Linked DNA regions of Homo sapiens: region 1 is linked to region 2. The links are contacts of gene promoters, found by promoter capture Hi-C in human tissues and cell types (Jung and others, 2019). All regions are on one chromosome and are shown on one strand. The core of a region is centred on a gene start or on the middle of the fragment in contact, and the rest is flanking DNA. Distances in the headings are between cores, read along the strand shown. Region 1 overlaps MBTPS1 (membrane bound transcription factor peptidase, site 1). Region 2 holds the start of KCNG4 (potassium voltage-gated channel modifier subfamily G member 4).

Evidence for each region. The method cuts DNA at HindIII sites, captures the fragments that hold promoters and counts their contacts. A contact is called where the count stands out against the background at its distance.
Region 1: a fragment that was not itself captured here is called in contact with the fragment with the promoter of KCNG4 in region 2 in 2 of the 25 tissues and cell types used here (heart left ventricle and mesendoderm cells).

The regions. Positions count from the first base shown.
Region 1 is chr16:84,087,433-84,090,435 of GRCh38, forward strand. MBTPS1 (membrane bound transcription factor peptidase, site 1) reads right to left here. Exons shown (of 23, transcript NM_003791.4): 9 at 1-28. Among named protein-coding and RNA genes, the nearest start is that of MBTPS1, 28 kb to the right of the region's middle. The HindIII fragment of the contact is 3,166 bases long and covers 1-2,833 here.
Region 2 is chr16:84,238,329-84,241,691 of GRCh38, forward strand. KCNG4 (potassium voltage-gated channel modifier subfamily G member 4) reads right to left here and starts at 1,684. Exons shown (of 3, transcript NM_172347.3): 1 at 1,342-1,684. The HindIII fragment of the contact is 8,358 bases long and covers 1-3,363 here.

The DNA of each region.
Region 1 (3,003 bases), core at 1-2,500, 150 kb before region 2:
CATTTGATCAGCAGGGTTATTCAGAGTGCTATATTGAGACCAAAAAAAAAAAAAAAGAAAAGAAAAAGAAAAAAACAAGAGAAATAATTTAAAATGGATGATTCAAACCAGGGCGAATACTCCCAGAACAATCTAACACTGTATGAGCTGCTTCTGTGGGAAGACGTGTGCAGCTCCTCACGGCTGTCCTGTGAAACGCATGATCCTGCCACGTTCATGCTGTGCTCACATTACGCCCTCTCACCTGCAACGCCCCTCCTTTCTTCTCCTCCCTGTCAACTTGGCACACTGGGGCTCAAGGCTCACGTTTTCCCTCCAGCAATCCAAGCCTTAAGCATCTGTACTTGCCTTGAACCTCACAACACTTAACACAATCACAATTTATCACCTAACGACACATTCTCACATCACTTTCAAATTGTTCCCAGCACATTCATCTTAACTCCCCAGCTAAATCACACACTTCTCCTGGAAGAAACCATAACCACACATTTACATCTGCCAAGGTCAGGAAGTGGTAAGTTTTCGATTGACCTGTGGTGGTGTTCTACCCTCCTCATAGGGAACTGTAGAAGGACTATCATTACTCTGTAATCTTGAGCTCCTTAGAGTCTCTCCAATACCTTAAGTGCACTAGATCTGCAAAGAAATTATAGTGAAATAAATAATGGCAAAAATGTGTAAACCGTAAAGTCAAGATAAAGATGAACCATTTGAAAATATGAGACACTCAGTTATAAAACTGCATTGCTAAGCTTTATTATGGCTCCACTACCAAAAAAAATGAACTCTTTGACAAATCAACAACTACATACAACTGATTCCAAGTGGCTTAAGAGATAATAGCAGCATGAAGTTCTCCTTCTAGAGTGTGTTTTTAACTGACAATTCCCAACACACCGAGAAAAAGTGGTACTGCCTCCTCAGCCCACTGGCCACCAATATCCTACCAGCTGGTCATTCAGAGGAACGAATAATGATTTTCTGATGACTGATGCTAGATGTTTACACATTCCCAGGAACTCAAGGAGCAGAGGCTGGTACAGAAGTCACTGACAGAAACTCCCACTGAAGTTGACCAAAAAAATACCACCTTCCCACCCTCCTCTACCTGCTAAGCCCTATAATGCTTAGTGTACTTTAAACCCTTAAAAAATAAGGGAACGCATCAAGAAATCATTGCTGGTATTGAAAAGGAGGGACGTGAGGCTGCAGGCTTGCTGGCACCACAGAGTCTAGGAGCACCAAGGGCACAGGACCCAGACAAAGAGACCACAGCAAAGGGGACCGGAGGATGTGTGCCTCATTCCCAGAGGGGCTGACGTATGCATGTTACTGTCCTCAGACCAGCCCTGGAAGCAGTCCCACCAGATGCCCAAGCAGAAAAAACCACACCCACCACAAGCTGGGCTGCCGTGATCACATGCCACGTTCTGTCACTTCAACAGCCAGCAGGTGGCCAGGTCTGTGTGAGGCAGCATGAGCGTACACACAAGGTGGAGATGGGGCCTTCCTGGCAAGGCTCTGCTCCTTCAACACACCATAAACTCACAACTCTGGTAAGAAGCTACGGAGTGCAACCACCCACAAAAGCCACAGGGTTTCAGAACGGCAGCCAGCGTGTGACAAAACAGTCCGAACAGCATGCGAAAGAGCTGGGAATCCAGACAGGTATGGCCAGGAGGATGGGCAGAGGGATGGGGTGCGGAAGACCTGAGAGAAACAGAAGGAGGACACTCATTCCAGGAAGGTGTACATGGGGAAGTGGAAGATCAAGGTGAACTGAGATTGTGGCTGGAGTTGGCCAACTACGGCCCATGGGCCAAACCAGGCCCACACCTGTTTTTGCAAATACAGCGTTCCTGGAACACAGTCATGTTCATTTACACATATATCACCCGCAGCTGCTTTCACACAATAACGCCTAAAATATTTATTATCTGACCCTTTACAGAAAAAGTTTGCAATTCAGCCTAGAATACTGAAGACCTTGAAAAACAAAAGAAAAATGTGGATTTCATCTATTAGGCAATAATAAACTGCTGCAGATTCTTGATTAGAAAACTGCTACAATATATGTTTGAACAGTAGAAATACGCACAAAAAAGAAAAAGAGCAGCTTCCATTCAAAGAGCATCATCAGCATTCATGGTGCTCTCCCCCTGCTGTCTGATTTCAGTCTCATAGGTACTCTGCAGGCTGCTCTCTACTCCCATCACAGGTGAGGGAGCTGAGGCTCAGAGAAGTGACGGTGCCTCAGCCGTAAGTGGCAGGTCGGACCTGTCTGCTTCCACACCTAGTTTCACCCATGTCCATGCTGGAAGAGCTGGGGTGGGAAAAGACTCAAGATTGGAAAACAGGCTAGGAAACACTGACACCTGGTGACTCTGAACCGATGAGTGCCAGCCTTGAGTGGGGACATCAGAAATGGGAGGAACATTTAAAAGGGAGACAAGAACACCTGACGAGATGACTTAATAACTGGTGTTTGTCATGGCAGAGCTATAGCGAGGGTATGTTCATGCCACTTACATCTATGGCTCATGATACGTATCACTGATGCGACAGCAAAATCCAGAACCCTGGACCTCTAACAAGGTTCACGATCATTTACTCAACTATTAGGCTAGAGTCCTATGAATGCCAATATTCACGTTTTCTGATATGCAAACATGAACTTCACATAGCTTCACCTTGTCTTATGCCCTGGATTTGTGTAAAGCATCCTACAGAAACTTCGAGCACAAGAAATGACTTATAAACATTATCTAGAGAATAAAATGAAGCTGCTGGTGGAAAGAAAACTGAGACCTCTAACCAGACAGGAGCGTACTGGCTGGGATTCAGTGGCAAATGTTTCGCATCTCACGCTGCTTAAGTTTAGCACAAAGGCCCCCCTGTGACACTGTCCTCCCTGCCTCCCTCCTAAATGATCCCTCTCATCAACTCCCAAAGCACCGGCCATGTTGCCGTTAGGCCCGCCAGCACTTCCCCTGTGAATGA
Region 2 (3,363 bases), core at 434-2,933:
GCCCAGGAATGTGACTATGCTTAGCGAGCATCCAAGCATCTAGGTCTCAGGAGGAACTCCACCAGTCTCGCTTAATCCCTCTTGGTCGCTTCCCCATTTGGGGAGGCCTTTGCTAAGGGGACGGAGGAGCATTGCGTACTTGCAATCACAGTACTCCTCCATGTTCGTTGCGTGCTTGCCTCAGCCATCCTTGCTGTGTGACCTCCAGCCAGTTACTCCCCCTCTCTGGGCCCGCAGGCTTTTATGTGCAGAATGAAGGGGCCTCCAGCCGCAGTGGTTCATGCCTGTAATCCCAGCACTTTGCGAGGCAGAGGCAGGCAGATCATCTGAGGTCAGGAGTTCGAGACCAGCCTGGCCAATGAAACCCTGTATCTACTAAAAATACAAAAATTAGCTAGGCAAGGTGGCATGTACCTGTAGTCCCAGCTACTCGGGAGGCTGAGGCAGGAGAATCGCTTGAACCCGGGAGGCGGAGGCTGCAGTAAGCCGAGATTGCGCCATTGCACTCCAGCCTGGACAACAGAGCGAGACTCCATCTCAAAAAGAAAAAAACAAAAAAAAATGACGGGGCCTCTAATGCTGTCTCCATTTCAGACCTATATGAGGTGCTTGACTTAGTGTGAGTGTTTTAGATTTAGCCACTTCACATATTTAAAAAGTCCTTTTCATAATATTTCTCACCTTCAGATCCTGCAACCATTTCTTATGCTATTCATTCTAGCCAAAGCCATTTCCAAAGCATCTATAAGCTTACATTTTCAGATGCACTCCACTCCAATCAAGAGAAAAACTCGGCAGTGGAACGGAAATCAAAGTTCCTCTCAATTTCAGAGCCGGTTGGATTCCGGTGGATAGTGGAGAGTGAATCGTAACCTATTTCACACTCTTGCTCCCTACACAACATTCTGTTGCTCTGAATGCATTACTTTGCTCACAGGGAATGGCCAGAGGAGGATGAGGAGCCTGCAGAGAGAAGAGTATTTTGAAATCTGGGGAGCCCTTTGCAAGCTTCCTCATTTTCCCAGTGCAAAAACCAAGACCCAGCGAGCGGAAGTAACTTGTCCAAGGTCACACAGCAAATCCGAATCCAACCCAGCACTCTGTCCCCCAGCCTGGGGCTCCTTCCAGAACCTGAAAACTGCCCTTTCTGCATTCACTGAATAAACCCAATTTTGCCATCTACGGCTCTCCAAACAGCTGGCAAACAGCTCCTTCTGGAGCACGGGAAAGGAATTCACTCAAACCAGCACTTTTGCCAAGGATGTCTAACAGCGTCAACTTCCCCCTGGCCCCCGCCCACCCTACAGCAAGCAGTAACTCTTCCCCTCCAGTTTAACTCACCTTCTTGTCTCAGGGAGCCAGTTTCCAGCTGTTTCTCTGCCAGGCAAGGGGAGCCCATCTCTTGGTGCCCAGGGAAGGGACAGGTTTCTGGTGGAGATGAAGGGGAAGAAAAAAATCCCCAAAACAGCAGTTTCTAGCAGAGTCAGTTTCCAATCTTTCTTCCCGTGCCTCCTCCAGAAACCAGAAGTTCATTCATTCTGCATCTCTCTCTCCAGCAGCTGCAGGAGAGCCCTGGGGGATTGAGGTGGGATTTTTTTTTTTTTTTAAAGGACCCAGAAGTCCCTTTCCTTATGAGAGATGAGGGTCTGGGGGTTCTTGCTGGGAGGGAGCCAGGGCAGCTGTCCTGGTTGAGCAGCGGACTCTGCACTTCAAGTCCCACGGGGACAGCCAGTGTGGGGGGGTGTGGAATGGGAAGGGCTTAGAAATAATCTCTCCATCAGCCAGCAGCAGGAAGAAGCAGCAGCCGCTGCCACTCTGCCAACCGCCTAGGAGGCAAGGGGAGCTGTCCTCCCTCCTCTGGCATGGAGGAGCACAACTCGGGAGGAGCAGAGGGCAACTTGGGGCCGGAGGCATCTGCAGCTACCTGTCCCAGGCACCCCAGAGTCTCTCGGGGTATGCTGATGATGGTGACAGGCTCAAGTTGAAGCTGCAGGAGGAACTTTTTGCTGCTTTTAAGCAGCCCAGGCCTGGGACAGGTTCAGACAGAAGCCCAGGCTCTGAGCGCTGGGTGGGAGTCAGGGGGGCTGTGTTACAGAACAGCAATAGGAAGAGCTCCGAGCTTGGAATTCACACACATGCCTGGATCCTGGCTCCTATGTGAAAGGCTGGGTGACCTTGGCCAGGTGAGTTAGTGCTTCTGAGCCTCAATTGTCTTGTCTCTAAAACATGGGAATGAGAGAGGGTTCAGGGAAGGTCAGAACCATAAGTGCAAGCTCCTGTGCTGGTTGGATGGTTGGGTGGGTGAAAAGGAAGAGGCATCAGTCCAGGGCCTGGGTGTGAACTTGGACTCTGCACTGCCTGGCTGTGTGTTCTTGGTCAGTCACTTCCCCTCTCTGGGCCTTGGGTTTCTCAGTCAAATGAGGACAGTGAAACCAGCGATGGCTGCAATTGTAAAACCAGCATCTTGTAGTTGCTCACTACACGTTGACTGTTCTTCACTTTCTTAAGAGGTTTTGCAGCCCAGGCTCTTGGCTTCTGAATGTGTTATCTTCACTGCATTTGATAGTTGAGGCCCTGAGAAGAGGCTTGCTCAAGGTCATCTTGCTGGTTAGAACCATCACTTAGGCCGGGTGTGGTGGCTCACAGCTGTCATCCCAGAACTTTGGAGGCGGAGGCGGGCAGATCACAAGGTCAGGAGTTTGAGACCAGCCTGGCCAACGTACTGAAACCCTGTCTCTACTAAAAATACAAAAATTAGCTGGGCATGGTGGCGGGTGCCTGTAATCCCAGCTACTCGGGAGGCTGAGGCAGGAGAATTGCTTGAATCCGGGAGGCGGAGGTTGCAGTGAGCTGAGGTCGCGCCACTACACTCCAGCCTGGGTGACAAAGTGAGACTCTGTCTCAAAAAAAAAAAAAAAAAAAAAGAACCATCACTTAACAGACGCTTGAGTTTTGATGGGAGGATCCAGGAGTGAGGGAGATTAGAGGGTGAGCCTTCCACAGCTGCCTGCAAGGGGATGACAGGTGCTGCTGACCTAGGTGGGCTCTCTGTGGCCTTGGCAATGGGAACGAATCCAAGCAGAGAAGAGAACTGACTGAATGGAGGTCCATCTGGTATTGCGGTTTTCAAATGGTATTGCTTGAAGCCTTAGGGCTCTGCAGAAATGATTGAGGGGCCTGGCCTGGGGCAGTGACAACGGGGAGGATGAACCCCTGGACCTGCTACCTCAGCCATGGCAGCTGCACTCTGATCTGTCTCCATAAGACTGTAAGTGTAACCCCAATAAAGGCTGTGGCCCAGCATGGTCCAGTGTCCACACAGAGCCACTCAAAGAGATCCCAGAGCACCTGCCAGTAATGGAG